Linked DNA regions of Homo sapiens: regions 2, 3 and 4 are each linked to region 1. Evidence: promoter capture Hi-C in human tissues and cell types (Jung and others, 2019). All regions are on one chromosome and are shown on one strand. The core of a region is centred on a gene start or on the middle of the fragment in contact, and the rest is flanking DNA. Distances in the headings are between cores, read along the strand shown.

What was found. The method cuts DNA at HindIII sites, captures the fragments that hold promoters and counts their contacts. A contact is called where the count stands out against the background at its distance.
Region 2: a fragment that was not itself captured here is called in contact with the fragment with the promoter of CSPG5 in region 1 in 5 of the 25 tissues and cell types used here (IMR-90 fibroblasts, aorta, dorsolateral prefrontal cortex and 2 more).
Region 3: a fragment that was not itself captured here is called in contact with the fragment with the promoter of CSPG5 in region 1 in 1 of the 25 tissues and cell types used here (mesenchymal stem cells).
Region 4: a fragment that was not itself captured here is called in contact with the fragment with the promoter of CSPG5 in region 1 in 5 of the 25 tissues and cell types used here (IMR-90 fibroblasts, aorta, heart left ventricle and 2 more).

The regions. Positions count from the first base shown.
Region 1 is chr3:47,574,974-47,580,884 of GRCh38, forward strand. CSPG5 (chondroitin sulfate proteoglycan 5) reads right to left here and starts at 3,892. Exons shown (of 5, transcript NM_006574.4): 1 at 3,624-3,892; 2 at 1,860-2,955. The coding sequence starts at 3,720. RefSeq lists silencers at 1,206-1,500, 3,103-3,192, 3,243-3,302, 3,343-3,392 and an enhancer at 4,517-5,221. The HindIII fragment of the contact is 21,614 bases long and covers 1-5,911 here.
Region 2 is chr3:47,710,324-47,716,391 of GRCh38, forward strand. It overlaps SMARCC1 (SWI/SNF related BAF chromatin remodeling complex subunit C1), which reads right to left. Exons shown (of 28, transcript NM_003074.4): 8 at 4,092-4,167; 9 at 360-485. Among named protein-coding and RNA genes, the nearest start is that of HIGD2AP2, 51 kb to the left of the region's middle. The HindIII fragment of the contact is 9,280 bases long and covers 1-6,068 here.
Region 3 is chr3:47,761,853-47,767,592 of GRCh38, forward strand. All of the region lies in intron 2 of SMARCC1 (SWI/SNF related BAF chromatin remodeling complex subunit C1), which reads right to left. Among named protein-coding and RNA genes, the nearest start is that of SMARCC1, 17 kb to the right of the region's middle. The HindIII fragment of the contact is 7,286 bases long and covers 683-5,740 here.
Region 4 is chr3:47,745,057-47,750,699 of GRCh38, forward strand. SMARCC1 (SWI/SNF related BAF chromatin remodeling complex subunit C1) reads right to left here. Exons shown (of 28, transcript NM_003074.4): 3 at 852-937. Among named protein-coding and RNA genes, the nearest start is that of SMARCC1, 34 kb to the right of the region's middle. The HindIII fragment of the contact is 9,491 bases long and covers 1-5,643 here.

The DNA.
Region 1 (5,911 bases), core at 2,642-5,141:
AAAGAAACTGGAACTTAAGTTACAACGCCAAGGACAAAATACTCATTGCTTTCTACATGTTATTCTCTGATATACTACATCAAGACCTAAGGAACTTGAATTCATCATATACTTGCAGAACGAACAAGAACAAGAAGGATGGAGAATGACACTTGAAAAAGAGATACCCTGGCCGGGCGTGGTGGCTCACGCCTGTAATCCCAGCACTTTGAGAGGCTGAGGTGGGCGGATCACTTGAGGTCAGGAGTTTGAGACCAGCCTGGCCAATATGGTGAAACCCCATCTCTACTAAAAATAAAAAGAGACACACAGATGACAGAAATGCTCCATCTAGGACTAATGGAGACAACCCTCAAAGGAGTCTGAGGGCTCTCCTCCATTTCTACAGCCTGTAAAGGATGGAGACAAGCAAACCACCTGATCACCCCACCCTGGGATTCTTCCGGAATCAGGCTGCAAGCTCTCCAGCAAGTTAAATACCTCACTGTGAGGACAGTTCCTAAGAGTGAGGTGAGTAGGGTAATTACTGATGAGCTACAGACAATGCCCTTAGGAAAACTAAACTCTGAGTCTTTAAAAGGATTATGGATTTGATATCCCAAGGTAGACAAACATCAAAGTAGAAAGAAAAAAGCCACCTCCCAAAGTCAAGAAACACCCGCACATCTGCAATGCGAAGACTCTCAGCTTGATTTTATCTGTGTGAGTGGCTGCATTTTGGGGTCTGTTTCCAAGAAGGTCCTCCCTTTTGAGTTTGCGTGCCTACATTCCTTCCAGGGAACTGGCCCCTCCTCCCGCCGAGCACAAGGCATGGAGCGGTGTTCAACAGCTGTCTTTATCCCACAGAGTAGGTTTATGGGCCTACCCCTCTCACCAGTACCACCAGAACCCTCCAGCAAACACCCCTCAACCCAGCCCTTTTTCCAAAACTCTTAAAGAATTCCCTTCATTTTGCCTTTTTTTTTTTTTTTTTTTTTTTTTGAGACAGAGTTTCGCTCTTGCTGCCCAGGCTAGAGTGCAATGGCGTGATCTCGGCTCACTGCAACGTCCACCTCCTGGGTTCAAGCAATTCTGCCTCAGCCTCCCGAGTAGCTGGGATTACAGGCATGTGCCACCACACCCGGCTAAATTTTTTATGTTTTTAGTAGAGACAGGGTTTCTCCATGTTGGTCAGGCTGGTCTCGAACTCCCAACCTCAGGTGATGTGCCCACCTCGGCCTCCCAAAGTGCTGGGATTACAGGCGTGAGCCACCACGCCCGGCCTCATTTTGCCTTTGTAATTGAGGGTTTGGGTAAGGACACAACACACAGAGGAAAGACATAATCTTATTTCTGAGGAACCTCTCCTAGTGATAAGGTCACAGGAAGTGCATTTTACCAAGTAATTCTGTAGAAGAAGCCTGAGTGAACATTTCTCCACCTGGGAATCCTGCGACTGTACAACCTCTTGCAAGTTGTGCCTGTCACGCTGCCCTCTGTTTTGTTTTGTTTTTTTTTTTTTTTGAGATGGAGTTTCACTTTGTCACCCAGGCTGGAGGGCAGTGGCACGATCTTGGCTCACTGCAACCTCCACCCTCCGGGTTCAAATGATTCTCCTTCCTCAGCCTCCTGAGTAGCTGGGACTACAGGTGCCTGCCACCGCGCCCAGCTAATTTTTTGTATTTTTAGTAGAGATGGGGTTTCACCAACTTGGCCAGGCTGGTCTTGAACTCCTGACCTTAGGAGATCCGCCTGCCTCAGCCTCCCAAAGTGCTGGGATTACAGGCGTGAGCCAACGCGCCCGGCTACGCTGCCCTCTGTTGAGTCGGCCTCACATACACTCTTCAGTGTCCCTATGCACCTGCCTGCCATGCCCTTACCTGCAGAAGGCCCCTATGTTCTCCACCAGGTAGCACTGGCCGCCATTGTGACAGTAACTTGGGAAGAGGTCGCACACTGACCGGCAGGAGCCGTTATGCCGCACAAAGCCACTGCGGCACTCAGTGCCATTTTCACTGGAGGCCAAGTCCCTGCCTGGCTCTCCTGGGCGGGGCCTGAGGGCGATGCTGCTGCCGGGGACCGACCCCAGAGTGTGCTGTGGAGGGACAGCATGCCACCGACTGGTGGGCTGGCCTGTCCCGGGCCCCAGACCAGGCTTCCCAGTGGGCACTAGAAGCTCATTTTCATCTTCTAGGTCTCCACCTCCTACTGCATCTTTGTCATCCTCCTCTTCCTCCTCCTCTTCATCCAAGTCATCATAAAAGGATGTGGTGGGGTAGAAATCAGATTCATCGAAGGGGGTGAAATCATCGTATAAGTCAAGCAGGCTCCAGGAAGGGGTCTCTCCCTCAGTATCAGGGTGGTTCTCTGAGGTTCCTGGTGACCCTGGGAAGCTCCCCAGATCTGCGCCACGACCCTCACCATCCAGTCCTTCGAAGTAGTCGATGTCAATGATATCTGATGCCGGTTGGGGCTCCAGGGTGCCCTGAAATGGGTAAGTCAGCTCTGGCCCTTGAGGGTCGGGTGTGCTGCCCCCCAGGTTCAGCCAAACCTCCAAGGGGCTCTCCTTGGGGAGTTCAGAAGCTGGGCTCAGCTTGTCGCCGGGGGTGGGGGAGGGTGGCCCGCTGGCCTCTGTAGCCTCAGGAATGGCAGGGGGCATGATTGACTGCCCGAGGACCTCGTGGGGAGCCTGGAGCGTAGCTGGAAGGGCCTGGGCATCGCCGCTGCCCGCCTCTGCGGTCACTCCTCCCAGGCCTGGGCTGTCAGCTTCCAGCCAGGCGGTGCCGGTCACCGCAGCCGACTCCTGCAGCACCTCTTCTGGCCCGGCCAGCTCGCCACCGGGCGCCGTCCACGACGCCTCATCTTCCCCAGCCGCTGGTGGGCCGGCTTCTTCCCGCGTGTCGTTGGCAGGCGGCTCCCACGCCGGGCTGCCCTTCACCAGCTCTTCGGCCTCAACCGCGCTGCCCGCCTCACGCGCTGCGGGCGGGAGGGCAAGGGGCGGGACGTCAGGGCGGCGCGCTGAGGAGCCCTGGAGCCCCGGCCCGCCCCGGTCAGGCCCGCTCGCCTAGACCTGGTCAACCCAGACCTCGCCACCCTCAGACCCCACCGCCCCAGTGTGACCCCAGCCACCCGGTACCTCTAAGCCCCGTCCCGGAGTCTGCCCCCAAGACGAGGATCACACCCCGCCCAACGCCTCGCGGCTCGGCCCCGCCCGACCTGCCCCGCCGTCTGAAGAGCCAGGCCAGGGCGGCCCCCAGCTCGGCCCACCCATAAGTCTCACCCTCGGGAACCCACCCTGAGCCGCGTCCACTGGCTCCCGCCCTCAGCTCCAGGTCCCGCCCCGAAGTCTCACCCTCAGGCCCCGCCCCGGCCCCGCCCCGGCCCCGCCCCCGGCCCCGCCCCCAGTCCGCACCGCGGCCCGCGCGCTTGGGTCCCGGCTACCCCAACCGGGGTCGGCCCCCACGCGGGTCGGCCTTTCCCGGACCCCCACCACCTCCTGGGACCATTCCGCCGCCCGGCCGCGGCCAGGCGGTGCCCCGCCCCCTTGCCACAGCTCACAGCTCCACCTGTCCCCGCCGCCAGCGGGACCCCTGCCCTGGGTGGGGCACGAGGGCCGCGGGGGTCCCGGGCGCAGTCATACCTACCCGGCACGGCCCCAGAGGCCAGGACCAGCGCGGCCCCCAGAAACAGCAGCAGTGGCGGCGGCCCCCGGCCCGGGCCCCCGCCCCCGGCTCGCCCCATGGCGCGGCGCCCCGACCGCTGTCCGCGGTCCGCCCGGCTGGCTGCGCCCTCGGCTCGCCCGGCCGCCGCGCCTCCCGCCGGTTCTGCGGCCGCCTCAGCCCACGATGGGCAGCGCGAGGAGCCGCATGCCGCCGCCGCCGCCGTCCGCCGCTGTCCCCGGCGCGCCGCGCCTCCCCGCCTCCCGCGCCGCCGCTGCCGCCGCTGCGCTCAGCGCCGCCCTCACCCCGCCCGCCGCGCCGGCCCCGCCGCACGTAGCGGTGACGCCGGCCCCTTGGTCAGCCTGCCAGGGGAACAGACAGACCCCTCGCTGGGGACTAGGAGACACACGGACGGGGAGTGCGGGGCAGGCGGACGGGGAGCGCGAGGCAGGCGCACGGCGCGGCGCGCGGCGTTAGGCGGCAGGTGCACGGGCGGGAGACCTGTGGGATGGGGCCACGGTCCCGCCCCAGGTGAACAGGCGGCACGGGGCCCCGACCCGGAGGAACCCACCCGCCACGCGGCAAGCACGGAGGCGGGGACGTCGCGGGCCCAGTTACCCGCAGGGTCGGGGCGGGGTCCAGAAGAGCCGCAGGGGGCGGAAGCACGAGCCCCCACTGTGGAAACAAGCCAGGCCCGGGGCGCATGGAGCCTCTCGGATTCTGCACCAATCCCGTGTTCCGGGCGGGAAGGCTCTCAGGGAGGTCTCCGGGTCTCCACGAGGGAGGGGCGGGCGTTGGCAGAGCCTGGCAAGGGGGCGAAGCCGACCGCCCAGGCTCTAATCGGATCAGATCTAATCCGTTCGCAGCCAAAGCCACTAGCCTAGATCTCGCACAGCCAGGCCCGCCATAACGCATCCCGGGAGCAAGGGGTAAGACCCTCCCTGGGACTGCGGCTACCTCGCCTTCCTTCTAGTCTCCGGGCAGCCTGGGGAGCGGCCTTTAATCCTGGTCCCTTCTCCGGGATACGTCGTCCCCCAGGTGTCTCAGACCACCAAAACTCAGGTTCCTGGGTAGACCAGGGGGGTCTAGATCCCCAGCCGGGCACACATGGATGCTTGGCTTTAGAGTGATCTGTGGGGCCCATTCACAGCTTCAGGGCTCACAGGGCAACCCAAGACCACGCACCAGGAGGTCTGCTTAGTCGGCAGGAGGAACCGCAACCTAGTTACTTAGTTTATTCCCCCAAACCGACCGTCTACCCCTTAATGTGTTACTCACCCAAATGACAGTTCAGGGTATCAGCCCAAGGAGATAGGACAACTCCAGTATTTAAGAGACGGTCCCATTGCTGTCTTAGAAGACCAAATAAGTGACCAAGATGGAGATTCTATCTCCTAATCTTTCTGATACATATCTCCAGATGGAGTTGCCTTGGTTCAAAACCTGTTTCTCAGCAGAACTATGGCTGCAGCCTATTTGCCTAGCCTAGCGTCTCCACCTCTCCTGCCTGGTAAACTCCTCATGCCAGAAAAACTCAGTTCTTATCACCTTTCCCTCTATGAAGGCTTCTCAGCAGTTACACTTAATGCCCATCATCTCATCTTATCTACAGTTATTCCTCACTGGACTGCAAGGCACTTGAGTGCACAGGGCTGGTAACAGAGGGAGGCTCCATATCAGACAGGCATAAATGAACGAATGGCAACCACCCACACCCATCCCAGAACTGTGGTCTGGAGAGCCTTGAAAAAAGGGGTAAGGCTCTTTCTTTCATAGTTTCATGCTGCCTCCGGGGACCAAGTAAAATATGTTTGAAACAATAGCCTTCTCTAAACAGGGGACCATGTAGGGCTTTGCACTCACCTCAGCCACAGAGGCAGCAACGCACCCTTAACTGCCTCCAACCCATCTCTGCTTCCCTTGTGTGCAGCTTAACTCCTGTCACCTTTTACTGTATGTAGACTCTCTGTGTTCCTTTGCTTGTTTCCTCAACTCGGGTTGTGGCTGTCAGAGCGGCCTACCTCCTCCTTCCCTTCCTGAGGCCAGTCTGTGTGGGAAGACCTCATGGATGGGTTCCTTGATGTCTGGGGCATGACAACCACTCACACATTTTCAACAGGGTTTAATGGAGGAAGTTCTCCCACTCATTTTAAATATATTTTGTTAATTATTTAAGTATCTTCTTCTTCCCTTTCCTGGAGATGAAGTCTGCTAACGCTTCCTTCAATTTGGAATTTTTTTTTTTTGTTGAGACAGAGTCTCACTCTGTCACC
Region 2 (6,068 bases), core at 759-3,258, 130 kb after region 1:
TATATATACATACTAAACAAAATGAGTTTTGCATAGGAAAACCAACAGCTACATTAAATTCTGCTGTGATATTACACTTCAGATCTAGTGGGCAAAATCAGCTATACCACTACCCTTCTGCATGGGCCACTTTAAATCTTAATAACCTTTTAAGATTTTCATACCACTTTTTGGGAGGTTATTGTTTCTGAGATGGCTATTACAGCCACTTTGGAATTTTCACCTGATGGCACATCAGCCATCAGGCAGATGTGAAAGTTCCTAAGTGGTTTGTATATGACAGCTTACTGATGAAGATTTAATAACATTTAGGCCAAGAAGACAGACTTAATGATGAGAAACTGTGCCAAAGAAAATACCTCTTCATTCTTGGTTGAAATCCGCTGACGAAAACTCACAGGCTTCCTATTTTCATCCACCTCATAATCCTCCTCATTCATCCATTCATTGAAAATATCAGTGTCCAAAATCCATTTCACATGAACCTAAAACCATATCAAAGCATCAATATCTACATAAATAACAAAATCACTCAAGGTTTTACAGTATTGAGAAGGAAACAAGCTGATTTATTTTCAAAGCCTCAAATGCATAAAACATTAATAATGTGATACTACTAATGATATGTGAGTTGTAATTTAATCATCTCTATTTTTATTCCATATTAAAGAGAACAAGAAAGCATCAATAATTTATACTAGACCCAGATTTTGATAGCAAAGTCCCTCAAATTTGTTTTGCTTAATCATTTCATCCTTATGTTCATGAAAATCACTGATAAAAACATTCAACAGCACAGAGCCAAAATCAGTCATTGCTTTAGGCACGAAGGATGTCTTTGGGTTTATCAACAACACTCTAAGTGTTGATGACAGAGCACATTCGCAGAGGCCGATCACCTGCCCCATCATGTACACATGGTGCTCTAGGTAGGAATGGAAAAGTGACAGTCAGATGGTGGGTTCTTCCTAGTCCTTTATATGGCCACCTCCCTTGTTTAATTTCATGCTTCTGAGTAAGAATAAAATGAAAGGTTGTGTGGACGTACAAATGTAGATGTATATATACATATAGATAGATACTTAAACCACAGGCCTAACCCATATAACATTCCATATTATCCAACAGTATTTCTCAATGGGGGCACAACTGGAATTTGACACTAGAAAATTCTTCCTTGTACAGAAAAACTCAAGTCATGGTGGAGGTTTAAGTTGGAGTAGTGTTGGTTGAAATGAACATGTTCAGTCAAGAACAGATTACAATTATGAAGCCTTTCTAGAACACTGTAAAAACAAGATACACTGTGGCAATGACTAGAAAACAATATGAACTTCCTAGTAATTTGTCAATCTAAACTCCCTGTTTTCAAAGAGCTACTAAACTGGTTATTTGGGATATGCCTTTCAAGTACCTTGAGTTAAGAATGATACCCATCTGACTACACGCCTCCTCTCCCTTGAAAACTATAGTTACACAGTAATATACAGAAACACCAAATTAACAGCCTGTCCAAGACAAATAAAGCCTCCAATAATGTAACCTGAAAAGACTCCTAAATGGACAAATTATGGGAAGAGTGTATAAACAGAGCAGTATAAATAGAGCAGAATAAATAGAGTGTATAGGCCGGGCGTGGTGGTTCATGCCTGTAATCCCAGCACTTTGGGAGGCTGAGGCGGGCAGATCACCTGAGGTCGGGAGTTCAAGACCAGCCTGACCAACAAGGAGAAACCCCGTTTCTACTAAAAATACAAAAATTAGTTAAGGTGGTGGCACATGCCTGTAATCCCAGCTACTCGGGAGGCTGAGGCAGGAGAATCACTTGAACCCAGGAGGCGGAGGTTGCAGTGAGCCAAGATCACGCCATTGCACTCCAGCCTGGGCAACAAGAATGAAGTTCCGTCTCAAAATAAATAACTAACTAACTAACTAAATAAATAAATAGAGTATATAAATAGAGGCTTAAGCTAGTTAGAAAAAAAAAATAGGACTGTGCTAAATAAAAGGGTTAATTAACTGATAGTTTAGAAAATAAATGTCAAAATAGTGTTTTCCAAAGTGTGAGAAACATGTGTATACATTGCTTCCTTTTTTTTTTAAAAGAGCTGAATTTTCACACTGATAATCCTTTAACTACTGAGAAATCCTTGAAAGAAATCTCCTGAGAAAGAATGTTAGAGGAGTATGTGACAGCTAACAACTGTTTGTGTCAGGCACTATGCTGAACATCTTACACGTATAATCTCATTTAACTCTCCTAAGCACAGTGAAATAATGCGGGTATTATACTCTCTGGCTTTCCAAATCAGAAAACTTGGGCAAACAGTTTTAGTAAGCTGACTATTTACACTCCTAATTAGAGGCAAAGCTTGGATTTGCACTAAGTTCTCCCTGAGCTCTCAAGTCCTATGCTTTGTTATCTCTCTCATAAAAAATACCTTCATGTCAAAATAATACAAAAGTCCATGTGTCCTTGGGTAAAACTACTTAACTTGTGGAGCCTAGTTTCCTTCCTAATAATGTGATACCATAGTTAAGTAATCATTCCCAGTTCTGATACTATAATCTACAGGGAAATAGATGTCTAAAAATCCTTCAGTAGTACTTCACAACATTACATGGCTCATGAGTCACATGGCTTACTCCTTTACTATTAGATGATAGTATAATTTCAACATTTAATTTCCAAAAATAGTTAAAAACAGAAAAATCTGGGCCAGGCGCAATGGCTCACACCTGTAATCCCAACACTTTGGGAGGTCCAGGCGGGCAGATCACAAGGTCAGGAGATCGAGACCATCCTGGCTAACACAGTGAAACCCCATCTCTACTAAAAAAAGAAAAATTAGCCGGGCTTGGTGGCGGGCGCCTGTAATCCCAGCTACTCAGAAGGCTGAGGTAGAATGGTGTGAACCCGGGAGGTGGAGCTTGCCGTAAGCCGAGATCGCGCCACTGCACTCCAGCCTGGGCGACAGAGCCAGACTCCGTCTCAAAATAAATAAATAAATAAATAAATAAATAAATAAATAAATAAAAGATAAATCTGGAAGAAGGGTACCAAGTAGTGCTTTGTTTTGTACTACTCTTGCAACTTGTAAAATTAATTTTTTTGTTTTGAGACAGGGTCTTAACTTGTTATAAAGGCTGGAGTGAAGTGGTTGCAATCACGGCTCACTGCAGCCTCAACCTCCTCAGCTCAAGCAATCCTCCTGCCTCAGCCTTCCAAGTATGTAGCTAGGACTATAGGGCACTTGACATTATGCTCAGATAATTTTTTTTTTTTGGTAGCTCAGGCTGGTCAAGCAATCCTCCTGCCTTAGCCTCCCAAAGTGTTGTTATTACAGGTGTGAGCCACCATGCCCCATAAACTTTATTTCCACATCAAAAGTTGATTAAAAGTCAATGTATGGACTCTTATTACATTATGGTAGAAATGATTAATAAAGTAAGTCTGTATCATTCTAAAAGTCACACAGGCATTGCTTCCAAGCTACCCAAATGACATCATCAGTGATGTTCAACTCTACTCCTCACACTCCTCTCTCACAAACCACAATCTGACCTGCCTTTGGATTCTCCTCAAACATCAAGCACTGCAGACATTTCATCTAAGACCTAGATAATAAAGTCTTCATGGCCGTACGTATCTTGTAAATGGATGACAGGAAAGGGAAACCAACATTCTGTATCTCCTTAGAGAGACTGCTGTAGAAAACAGCTGAGAAGAGCTATTAGATTATTGTAAGAATTTTTTTGGCCAGGCACGATGGCTTACACCTGTAATCCCAGCACTTTGGGAGGCTGAGGCAGGCCGATCACCCGAGGTCGGGAGGCTGAGGCCAGCCTGACCAATCCAGTAAAACTCCGTCTCTACTAAAAATACAAAAATTAGCCTAACGTGGTGGCGTGTGCCTATAGTCCCAGCTACTTGGGAGGCTAACGCACGAGAATCACTTGAACCCGGAGGCGGAGGTTGCAGTAAGCCAAGATCGCACCACTCCACTCTAGCCTGGGCGACAGAGTGAGACGCCATCTCAAAAAAAATTTTAAAAAGATTATTGTAAGATTTTTTTTGTTAAATCATTTACCTTCCATGGTTTTTCTGGAATTGGTGGATCTTCAATTTCAGCATCAACATCATTACTATGGACCCAAGTATCATAGCTATAAAGGAATCAAAATGAGAAAAACAAATTAGAGTCAAAGGTAATTCATTAGAAAGACTTTTACAAATAATAAGAACATGTTTTAGAAATACTACTAAAATCCCAGCCTGGTCAACATGGTGAAACTGCGTCTCTACCAAAAAATACAAAAATTAGCCGGGCATGGTGGGATGTGATTGTAGTCCCCACTACCCAGGAAGCTGAGGTGGAAGAATCGTTTGAACCCAGGAGGCAGAGGTTGCAGTGAACTGAGATCACACCACTGCACTTCAGTCTAGGCAACAGAGTGATACCCTATCTCGAAACAAAACAAAACAAAACAAAAAACTAAAAGAAATACTACTAAAATCTATTAATAGAAACTTATCAGACACTTTTGTCCTTACTATTCTGCCAAGAAAGCTCCTCTGTAGAGGTCACCAGTAACGTATATATTGCTAAACCCGAAGTTCAAGACTAAGATCAAAAAATTTTAAACAGCTGCTTGGTCTTTCCTCAAAGCATTTCCCTCACTTGGCCACCAAGAAAGTACTATCACCTGATAGTCCTTATATTCACCAGCCTCTCTTCAGTTTCCATGTCAGTTTCTGGTCTTAGTCCCAAATGTCTTCAACCTCCAAAAGTTCCTGGGTTCAGTTTTTGGAAAAATCCTTCTCCCTTGCTAATTTCATTCATTCCTATAACTCCAAATATACGCTGATGACTTCAAATTTTATATCAGCACTCTCCCATGTATTCTGAACTCATAAATCCAACAGCCAACTCCACATCTCCTTGTGTAGAACATCTAACAAGCATTCCAAACCTAACACTCAAAGCTCAACTTGCAATGCTACCCTGGCCCCAGCGATGTACTCTAGCCAATCATTTCCATTTCAGTAATGACAACTTTATCCTTCCTGCTGTTCGCCAAAATCCTTGGAAACAGCCTTGATTCCATTCTCAAGCACATCCTGTAATCAAACCAACTGCAAATGTGACCAGCTCTAACTTCAAAAGTATGTCTAGAATCTATCTAATTCTTACCCCTCCACTCTGCTCACTGGTTTTCCTGCTTCTGCCATTGGTCTCTTGGTCTCTCAAAGAGTTAATTTTTCACATAGCCATTGTGATCTTTTTGAAAACTAAGTCAGTCCACATCACTCTACTGATCCAACACTTCCAACTGCTCTCACCCTATCAGAGTGAAAGTAAAAAACCTAACGATGGCTTGCCATGGCTTCAAGATCTAATTATCTGACAGAGACTCTGACCCCATTTCCTGCTCTTCTGTCCTTATTCATGTTATATTTGAGCCACACAGGCTTTGATAACATTATTCCAACATTCCCTACTAAGCCTGCATACACTCTACACAGATTGCTCCCTCACTGTCCAGATATCCATATAGCTTACTCTCTTATTTCTTCACATCTCTTTGCTCAAGGAGCCTCTTTATCAACAAGAACTCACTGACATAAATCAGACCACCTACTCCAACAAAATCATAAAATAGGCACAAAATTTTAACCAAAATAAAACACTGTGAATATCACTATACTGACCAGTAAACTATGAAACCAAATGACATCTAGTATGATGACAAGTATTAGCTTCCTTTTAGTCACCATTCAGAGGTCAGTTCAAAAGAATATGGAACCTGGCCAGGCACAGTGACTCACGCCTGTAATTCCAGCACTTTGGGAGGCCAAGGCAGTGGACCACCTGAAGTATAAGGAGTTCAAGACCAGCCTGGCCAACATGGTGAAATCCCGTTTCTATTAAAAAATACAAAAATTAGCGGGGCGTTGTAGTGTGCACCTGTAATCTCAGCTACTTGGGAGGCTGAGGCAGGAGAATCGCATGAACCTGGGAGGTGGAGTTTGCAGTGAGCTTAGATCGCACCACTGCACTCCAGCC
Region 3 (5,740 bases), core at 3,076-5,575, 190 kb after region 1:
GGCTGGAGTGCAGTGGCACAATCTTGGCTCACTGCAACCTCTGCCTCTCAGGTTCAAGCTATTCTCCTGCCTCAGCCTCCTGAATAGCTGGGATTTTTTTTGTATTTTTAGTAGAGACAGGATCTCACAAGGTTGACCAGCCTGGTCCAGAACTCCTGATTTCAGGTAATCCGCCCGCCTCAGCCTCCCAAAGTGCTGGGATTACAGGCGTGAGCTACCATGCCCAGCTTGCTTTCTCCTATTCCTTTGCCACAGAACATTTTTAGAAACTCAGAGAGAGGACTATTAAGAAAAATTGTTCAAAGTGAAACTTGAAGACAACAGATTCTTCTTAGCCCTCTGCATTTACTCCTCCCCTCCCTCTTCTCAGATGCTACAGGTACTCCCCAGGAAATAATTATAAAACCAGTGATCAAGTCCAACTCCAACTGTAAGCCCCTTCTTATTAACTTCACGTTCCAAACGGTTTATTCAATCAAATGAAAACAGACTGTTAAAGTGACAGTCCTCCAACTCCCACCCTTTCCATTACACCAGACTGATCCAGTTGGTGAGAATTCCTGCCATGAGGTCAGTCATACTTACTGGGAAGAAATTCAAAGGTGTCAGAAAGAGATAGCTTATGAACTGTGACTCATCTAAAACATCCCAAAATAGTATTATCCAGTTCAATCACACCACCACATTTGTTAGAACTGGCTATGACAACATTTTATGCTCAACGTATTTACAGGTGTTCCACCAAATCACGTAACAATTGAAAATAAATTTAGAAAATGTTGAATGAGGCTAGGCACAGTGGCTCACACCTGTAATCCCAGCACTTTGGGAGGCCGAGATGGGAGAATCACCTGAGGTCAGGAGTTTGAGATCAGCCTGGCCAACATGGTGAAACCCTGTCGCTACTAAAAATATAAGAATTAGCCAGGTGTGGCTGGGTGCAGTAGCTCACGCCTGTAATCCCAGCACTTTGGGAGGCCGAGGCGGGCAGATCACGAGGTCAGGAGATCGAGACCATCCTGGCTAACACGGTGAAACCCTGTCTCTACTAAAAATACAAAAAATTAGCCAGGTGTGGTGGCAGGCACCTGTAGTCCCAGCTACTCGGGAGGCTGAGGCAGGAGAATTGCTTGAACCCAGGAGGCGGAGGTTGCAGTGAGCCGAGATCACGCCACTACACTCTAGCCTGGGCGACAGAGCGAGACTCCATCTCAAAAAAAAAAAAAAGAGAAAACGTTGAATGATAGTTCCCTTAAAATAGGTGTATCCATCTCCTCAATGCATCTCCTTCTTCAACAGTAATAATCTTTCTTTTCCTCTTTTTTATTTTTCAATCTTTTTTAGAGACAGGGTCTCACTTTGTTGCCCAGGCTAGTCTCGAGTTCCTGGGCTCAAGTGATCCTCCTGCCTCAGCCTCCCAAAACGTTAGGATTACAGGCATGAGCCACCACACCCAGCCCTTTTGGGTCAACACTTTCAGAGGACAAGGCAGGAGGATAGCTTGAGCCCAGGAGTTTGGGACCAGCCTGGGCAACAATAGCGAGACTCCAGCTCTAAAAAAAAAAAAAATTATAAAAACATAATAATTTTTTCAGTGAGTTCTGACAACTGCTTTAAAATACGTCAGTATTACACTTTACATTTTTGTAGATATATTAAGAAAAGCTCAATTTCACAAGATTGTTGCTCAGGCTAGTCTCAAACTCTTGAGCTCAGAGGACCCACTCACCTAGGCCTCCCAAAGTGTTGGGATTATAGATAGGCATGAGCCACAGTGCCCAGCTGAGATTTTTTTTTTAAGAAAAAAAATATATATATACAGTATTCTGTTTTATGTTTACACTATATTTTCACAACACAAAATACTTCAGTTAGGTTTTTTTTCTCAAACAGGGACTCACTGTCGCCTAGGCTGGAGTGCAGTGGCATGATTATAGCCCACTGCAGCCTCAACCTCCTGGGCTCAAGAGATCCTCCTACCTCAGCCTCCCAAAGTAGCTGGGACCACAGGCATGCACCACCACACCAAGCTAATTTTTTTTTATTTTTTGTAGACGGCTCTCACCATGTTGTCCAGGCTGGTCTCAAACTCCTGGGCTCAAGGACTCCTCTAGCCTCAGCCACCCAAAATGCTAAGATTATAAGCATGAACCACTGCACCCAGCCTTTCTCTTTAGGAAAAAAAAAAGAGAAAGAGATATTGATGGGATTTCGCTCTATCACTCAGGCTAGAGTGCAGCAGTAGTACTACTGTAACTCATGGCAGCCTCTAACTCCTGGGATCAAGTGATCCTCCTGGGTCAGCTCCCAAGTAGTTGGGACCACAATCACACACCACCATGCACGACTAATTTTTAGTTTTTCTGATAAATAGGGTCTCAATATGTTGCTCAAGCTGGTCTCAAACTCCTTGCCTCATGTGACCCTCCTACTTCAGTCTCCCAAGTAGTCTGGATTACAGGCATGAGCCAGTGTGCCCAGCTAAATATGTACTGTTCACTGTACATTGGCCATACTTCAGCAAAGCTGTAGGACACATTACAGGGAGAGAGAGAAAGATGAAAAAAGTAAAAATATAGAAAAAATAAATAAATGAAACATCAATCAAATAAATAAGTACAATGTCAGTGAACTCAGGTTTCTACCTACGAATCCACATGGTACGGAGTACAAACCTGCACTGAAGTTGATCATATAGCTTTCCAGAGCCTTGCCCACCACCTGGTCCAGCATGCCCTCTGCCTGGAATACTAGTCCATGTCTCCAGCACAGCAGCCCATATTCTGCAGCCTACTGAGCTCTATCTAACTGGTCATGCTACATCATGTAGGCTCACTGCCCTTGCACATGAATTATAAAGGCCAGAAGCTAGCTAACTAGATTTTTCAGATTTAACTATTCTTCTACAGTAATTTGTTTTATCCACACGTATGTGGCTGAGCAGTTCAGTTAGACTATTTGTTTTCTCCATGTTGGCAAATTATTTCCTACATGGCCCCCAAGTTACAAGAATATCTATGAGTTCATTAGTACAAAATTCAAAAACAAGCAAAACATAATACTATATTATTCAGGGATGCACACTAACACAGTGATACCTATAAAGAAAAGCAAGGAGGCCAGGCGCGGTGGCTCACGCCTGTAATCCCAGCACTTTGGGAGGCTGAGGCAGGCAGACCACCTGAGGTCGGGAGTTCAAGACCAGCCTGAACAACATGGAGAAACCCTGTCTCTACCAAAAATGCAAAATTAGCCGGGCGTGGTGGCGCATGCCTGTAATCCCAGCTAGTCAGGAGGCTGAAGCAAGAGAACCGCTTGAACTCGGGAGGCAGAGGTTGCAGTAAGCCGAGATCGTGCCATTGCACGCCAGCCTGAGCAACAAGAGAGAAACTCTGTCTCAAAAACAAAAACATACAAAAAAAAAAACGGCAAGGAAAAGATTATCTGTGGGGAAAAAGAGGAGTTTATGGTTGGGGAAGGAACACATACGTTTGTTAGGGTTGTTAGCAATTTCTGACCTGGACTGTGGTTAAATGGATGTTCTCTTTATAATTATTTAAGTCAAAATTTATTTTACTCACTTTCTATATATTTTACAATAGGAAGTTGTTTAAAAAAAAAAAGAAAGAAACTAAACCATTATTCCACAAGTAAATTTCCTACACTATTTTGCTTAAACAGGTGCTCATATTCCACTTTCATCAGACAGAGTTCTAAGCTACAAACTCAAATGCTCACTTCAAATATATATACAACACTTACGGTCTCCTTCCTAGTCCCATGTTCCCAAAGATAGTCTCTCCATTCTGAAATTCATACAACAGCAGAGTGAAATCAGTTCAGGAATATAATATTCTACATTTTTCCTCCAGTTGCAAATTAATTTTTTTTTTTTTTTGAGATGGAGTCTCACTCTGTCGCCCAGGCTGGAGTACAGTGGCATGATCTTGGCTCACTGCAACCTCCGCCTCCTGGGGGCTAGCAGTTCTCCTGCCTCAGCCTCCCGAGCAGCTGGGATTACAGGCGCCTGCCACCACACCCGGGTAATTTTTGTATTTGTAGTAGAGACAGGGTTTCACCATGTTGGCCAGGCTGGTTTCGAACTCCTGACCTCAGGTGATCCACCTACCTCAGCCTCCCAAAGTGCTGGGATTACAGGCGTGAGCCACTGCCCCCAGCCTAAATGATTTTTTTAAGTGCAATGACAGGTTTACAATTTTGGGCATAAGGGTACATGTTCTCAAGATCTCCTGGAGCTGTGTCACGTAAAAAAGAAAACAAAATCTTGGATATCTCCCAAACACAATTAAAATCCAGTTACTTGAGACTCTCACTTAACCTTCTATATTTCTTACTCTCAGAGCTTTCCTGTTTTTTTAAACACAGATGCTTATAATCCATTTTAAAATGCAGAATAAAAAAACAGCTCTAGGCCGGGCACTGTGGCTCATGTCTGTAAACCCAGGACTTTGGGGGGCCAAGGCGGAAAGACTGCCTGAGCCCAGGAGTTCGAGAACAGTCTGGGCAACAGGGCAAAACCCTGTCTCTACAAAAAAAAAAAACAAAAATTAGCAGGGTGTAGTGGTGCATGCTTGTCCCAACTACTCAGGAGGGTGAGGTGGGAGGATCTACCTGAGTCTGGAAAGTCATGGTCGAATATGCAGTGAGTTGAGATCATGCCACTGCACTCCAGCCTGAGTGACAGAGTGAGAGAGACCCTGTCTCAAAAAAAGAAAAACAGCTCTATCCTATTATTACAATTATGTTTACATTATGTATGCACACGTACTAAAGCCTTGGAGGGCTTGTGGGAAAATTAGAAACTTTACTTGTAGTGAAGGTAAAATATATTTTTCTTTTTTGTTTTATACCCACATCTTCTTAGCAATTTTTTTTGTTTCAAATCATGTGTTTGGTAATGCAATATACCTTTAGCCTTAGCCTTATGAAATGCTTGGTTCTTTCTAAATCTCTCAGCATTTGATAGAACAAGAGCCAGCTGTCCGACATCCAGCATGACTTGGGAAGTTACTATATAAAGTTCCACTCTAGCTGGGCATGGTGGCTCACGCCTGTAATCCCAGCACTTTGGGAAGCCGAGGCATGCGGATCACGAGGTCAGATCAAGACCATCCTGGCTAACACAGTGAAACCCTGTCTCTACTAAAATACAAAACAAAATTAGCCGGGCGTGGTGGCGGGCACCTGTTGTCCCAGCTACTTGGGAGGCTGAGGCAGGAGAATCGCCTGAACCCAGGAGGCGGAAGTTGCAGTGAGCCGAGATCACACCACTGCACTCCAGCCTGGGCAACAGAGCATGATTCTGTCTCCAAAAAGAAAAAAAAAAAAAAAAAAAAAGGTTCCACTCTGATTTTTTTCTTTTCCTTTTTCTCTTTTTTTTTTTGAGATGGAGTTTCGCTCTTGTTGCCCAGGCTGGAGTGCAATGGGCACAATCTCGGCTCACTATAAACTCCACCTCCCGGGTTCAAGTGATTCTCCTGCCTCGGCCTCCTGAGTAGCTGGGATTACAGGCATGTACCACCACACTCGGCTAATTTTTTATTTTTAGTAGACATGGAGTTTCTCCATGTTGGTCAGGCTGGTCTCGAACTCTCAACCTGAGGTGATCCACCCACTTCAGCCTCCCAAAGTGCTGGGATTACAAGGTGTGAGCCACCGCACCCAGCCTCCACTCTGATTTAAAAAAAAAAAAAAAAAGTCCAAATAGTGAACTCGGCCG
Region 4 (5,643 bases), core at 60-2,559, 170 kb after region 1:
CAGGAGTTCGAGACCAGCCTGGCCAACATGGTGAAACCCCATCTCTACTAAAAATGCAAAAATTAGCTGGGCATGTGGTGGCAGGTGCCTGTAATCCCAGTTACTCAGGAGGCTGAGGCAGGAGAATCACTGGAAGGTTGCAGTGAGCTGAGATGGTGCCACTTCACTCCAGCCTGGGCGAAAAAGCGCAACTAAGTCTCAAAAAAACAAAACAAACAAACAAAAATACTATCTATCCACTTCAAATATAATGTATGAGTTCATTATACACACACATTTCATGGCAAGCCTACCTTCTAATTTGCTAACAATGTACACCTGTTACTATAAAAATCAAATATAAGAAATCACTTCCCTAATAAATACTTGGTTGTGGCCGGGTGCGGTGGCTCACGCCTGTAATCCCAGCACTTTGGGAGGCTGAGATGGGTGGAGTGCTTGAGGCCAGGAGTTTGAGAGCAGCCTGACCAACATGACAAAACCCTATTTCTACTAAAAATAGAAAAATTAGCCAGGCATGGTGGTGCACGCCTACAGTCCCAGCTACTCAGGAGGCTGGGGCATGAGAATTGCTTGAATCTGATGCGCGGGATGCAGTGACCTGAGATTCCACCACTGCACTTCTAGCCTTGCCAACAGCCTTGGTTGGTCCTATTTTTAAGACCCTGTCTCAAAAATAAATAAATACGTGGTTGCTTGATATTTTTCTTGGATGTAGAAACAAGGTAAATTAGGGCTCTTGGTAAAACACATTAATCATCATGTGCTTACAGGATTTTCTAACACAAGGAAACAGGACTTAAAAGTAAATAACTTAAGATCAAAACATGCAAACAAATACAAAAACTTACCATCCCTGTTCATTTTTATACTTGTAAGCAGCCCCAAGAATGTGACATAAGGCGCCTCCAGCTTTGAAATCCATGAAACACTTTGCCTAAAAATGATACAAATTACACATGAGAAAAATAAAGCTTCTGACAAAATTACTCATGTCTTAATTCTAAGTTTTATAAATTCAAATATATAAACAAATACTAATTAAACAACCTCCTTAAACATCTTCTTGAATAAACTGAGGAATCAATACATTTTTCTAAAAGTAGATTAGGCTGGGCATGGTGGCTCATGCCTGTAATCCCAACACTCTGGGAGCGTGAAACAGGAGGATCACTTAAGCCCAGGAGTTCAAGACCAGTCTGGGCAACACAGGGAGATCCAGTCTCTAGAAAAAAATTTAAAAATTAGCTGTGCATTGTGGCACACACCTGCAATCCTATCCAGGAGGCTGGGGTGGGAGGATCACTTCAGCCTGAGAGGTTGAGCCTGCGGTGAGCCCTGATCGCCCTACTGCACTCCAGCCCTGGATGACAGAGTGAGATGCTGTCTCAAGAAAAATCAAATGAAATAAACTGAAGTGAAACTACTTTCTTGTAGCCAGTACAGTGGCTCACACCTATAGTCGCAGCTACTTGGGAGGCTGAGATGAAAGAATCACTTGAGCACAGAAATTCAAAACCAGCCTGGACAATATAGCAAGACCCCATACCCCTCCCCAAAAGAATTCCTTTTAAATTCCATAAACATATTATAATTTGAGTAATTAGTCTGTCAAAAGAAAGATTTTAAAAAGCTAAATATAGGCCAGGAGCAGTGGCTCACATCAGTAATTTTTTTTTTTTTTTTTTTTTGAGATAGAATTTTGCTTTTGTTGCCCAGGCTGGAGTGCAATGGTGCTATCTCGGCTCACTGCAACCTACGCCTCCCAGGTTCAAGTGATTCTCCTGCCTCAGCCTCCTAAGTAGCTGGGATTATAGGCATGCATGACCACGCCCGGCTAATTTTGCATTTTTAGTAGAGACAGGGTTTCTCTATGTTGGCCAGGCTGGTCTCGAACTCCCAACCTCAGGTGATCTGCCCGCCTCAACCTCCCAAAGTGCTGTGATTACAGGCATGAGCCATCGTGCCTGGCTACACACCAGTAATTCTAACATTTTGAGACACCAAGGTGAAAGAATCACTTGAGGCCAGGAGTCTGAGACCAGCTTGGGCAACACAGTGAGATCCTACCTCTACAAAAAATTTAAAAATTAGGCCAGGTGCAGGAGTGGCTCACACCTGTAATCCCAGCATTTGGCAGGCCGAAGCGGGCAGATGGCTTGAGCACAGGAGTTCAAGACCAGCCTGGGCAACATGGTGAAACCCCGTCTCAACAAAAAATGCAAAAGAAATTAGCCAGGCATGGGGGGAGTGTGCCTGTAGCCCCAGCTACTGGGAGGCTGAGGTAGGAGGATGGCTTGAACCTAGGAGGCAAAGGTTGCAGTGAGCTGAGACCATGCCACTATACTCTAGCCTGGGCAATAAAACCAGAATTTGTCTCAAAAAAATATAAATATAAATATAAATATAAATATAAATATAAATATAAAAATTAGCCAGGCATGGTGGCACACGCCTGTAGTCCCACCTACTCAGGAGGCTGAGGTAGGAGGATTGCATGAGCATGGGAAGTCAAGCTGTAGTGAACTGTGATGGTGACAAATCCAGCCTGGGTGACAGAGTGTGACCTTATCTCAAAAAACAAATTTTTTTATAAAAAAGATAAATCAAAATGGTTCCAAAGAAAATGCCTGTAACCCCAGTACTCTGGTTGAGAAAGAAGGCAGGGAGGAAGGGAGGACTGCTTGAAGCCAGGAGTTTGAGGCCAGCTTGGGCAAGGAAGTGAAACTTTGTCACAAAGAAACAAAAGAAAAAAAGAAATATAAGGATAGTGGACTTCTTCGCCTTATAAATTCTTGACTATAAATATACAAAAATTAGGCCAGGCATGGTGGCTCACGCCTGTAATCCCAGCACTTTGGAAGGCCAAAGCGGGTGGATCATGTGAGGTGAGGAGTTTGCCACCAGCACGGCCAACATGGTGAAGCCCCATCTCTACTAAAAATACAAAAATTAGCCAGGCATGGTGGCGGGCGCATGTAATCCCAGCTACTCGGGAGGCTGAGGCAGGAGAATCGCTTGAACCCAGGGGCAGAGGTTGCCAAGATCACACCACTGCACTCCAGCCTGGGCGACACAGTGAGACTGTCTCAACAAAAAATAAAAAATAAAAATAAAAACATAAATTATGCAAAAATTGTAAGTGAACACTTTTATTATACTTTTTTATCTTTTTGAAACAGGGTCTCACTGTGTTGCTCAGGCTGGAGTACAGCTGGGTGATCATGGCTCACTGTAGCCTCTGCCTTCTGGGTTCAAGGAATTCTCGTATCTCAGCCTCCCAAGTAGTTGGGATTACAAGCAAGTGCCAATACGCCTGGCTAATTTTTTTTCTGTTTTTTGCATATTTAAAAGACAAACTTTTGCCATATTGGCCAAGCTGATATGAAACTCTTGATCTCAAGTGATCCGCCCACCTTGGCCTCCCAAAGTGCTGGGATTACAGGCATGAGCCACCGCACCCGGCCTATTATAATATTTAATGACCATAAAAATGTGGTGTAACTATATAAAACTATAATAGCTAAAATCTATGCCACAATTCAAGAGATCTGTGCTTTACAGATTAAAAATATAGCTCAAATTAAACGAAATGGTGAATAATTTCCACATTATGAAGGTAAAAACAATATAAACTGAGCATCGAATAGGCTAAATAAGATGAAGTGTTATTAGAAACACCCATGCATTTTTTTCTCTAAAAACTATTACTACAAAATAATATACTGGAAAGAACCACATAGGTGGCAAACATTAAAAAGACAAAAAGCAGAATGGTGGTTGCCAAGGAAAGAGGGACAAGGAATGAAAGTTATTGTTTAATAGATACAGAAGTGAGCATAGTTTCTCCATCCCATAATCCCAAACCTTTGGGAGGCTGAGGCAGGAGGATCACTTGGGCCCAAGAGTAGAAGACCAACCTGGTCAACATAGTGAGACCTCATCTGTTTAAAAAAAAATAGTAATAAATAAAAATAAAGAGTATCCTGTAATCCCAGCACTTTGGGAGGCCGAGTTGGGTTGATCACTTGAGGTCAGAAGTTTGGGACAAGCCTGGCCAACATGGTGAAATCCCATCTCTACCAAAAAATACAAAAATTAGCCGGGCGTGGTGGCACGCACCTGCAGTCCCAGCTACTTGGGAGGCTGAGGTGGGAGGATCACTTGAACCTGGGAGGCAGAGGTTGAAGTGAGCTGATGTCATGCCACTGTAACAGAGGGAGACCCTATCTCAAACAACAAATAAAAATCATTTAAATGGCATATTTTGTTACAGATATTCTAACATAATTAAATATATATAAAATTTTAAAAAATAAATAGGCCAGGCACAGTGGCTCACGCCTATAAAACCAGCACTTTGGGAGGCCAACGAGGCAGGATCATATGAGACCAGGAGTTCAAGACCATCCTGGGCAACATAGCGAAACCTCATCTATAAAATAAATTATAAAACAAAAATGAGCCGTGTATAGTGGCACATGCCTGTGGTCCCAGCAACTCAGGAGGCTGAGGTAAATGGATTGCTTGAGCTTGGGAAGTTGAGGCTACAGTGAGCTGTGACCACACCACCGCACTCCAGCCTGGATGACAAAGTGAGACCCTCTAAATTAAACACACACACACACACACACAAAGTGAGACCCTCTAAATTAAACACACACACACAGAGAAAGAGACAGAGAGAGAGAGAGAGAGAGAGAGAGAGAGGTGGCGGGGAGAGGGATAGAGGGAGGGGGCAGGCAAATAAAAAAGGTGGCTCACGCCTACAATCCGAGCACTTTGGGAGGCCGAGGCGGGTGGATCACGAGGTCAGGAGATCGAGACCATCCTGGCTAACATGGTGAAACCCCGTCTCTACTAAAAATACAAAAACTTAGCCGGGCGTGGTGGCAGGCGCCTGTAGTCCCAACTACTCAGGAGGCTGAGGCAGAAGAATAGCATGAACCCGGGACATGGAGCTTGCAGTGAGCCAAGATGGTGCCACTGCACTCCAGCCTGGGTGACAGAGCAAGAGTCCATCTCAAAAAAAAAAAAAAGAAAATGCACGAGTCATTATAATTCTGTAGTGCTGACATCTTAAAATAGACTAATGTAGGCTGGGCGCGGTGGCTCACGCCAATAATCCTAACACTTTGGGAGGCCAAGGTGGACGGATCACAAGGTCAAGAGATCCAAGACCATCCTGGCCAACATGGTGAAACCATGTCTCTACTAAAAATACAAAAATTAGCTGGGTGTGGTGGTGCACGCCTGTAGTCCCAGCTACTTGGGAGGCTCAGGCAGGAGAATCACTTGAACCCGAGAGGCAGAGGATGCAGTGAGCCGGGATCGCGCCAGGGCACTCCAGCTTGGCGACAGAACGAAACTCCATCTCAAAAATAAATAAATAAATAAATAAATAGACTAATGTAATAGGTGGGTATCTACTACAGTAGAATGAGACTTACTTCTCCTACAGAAAGCCTTCCCTAAATCCCCAGATTGGTCTAAAATGTTCTCCTCAAACCATGCATGTAATCACTATTGCACTTCAGCATAATAGTGACATGACTGATTCATATATTTAATGTGGAATATGAATTCCTTGTGGACAGGAACAGTGCTTATTCAAATCTATCACCAATATTCAGCAATGTGCCA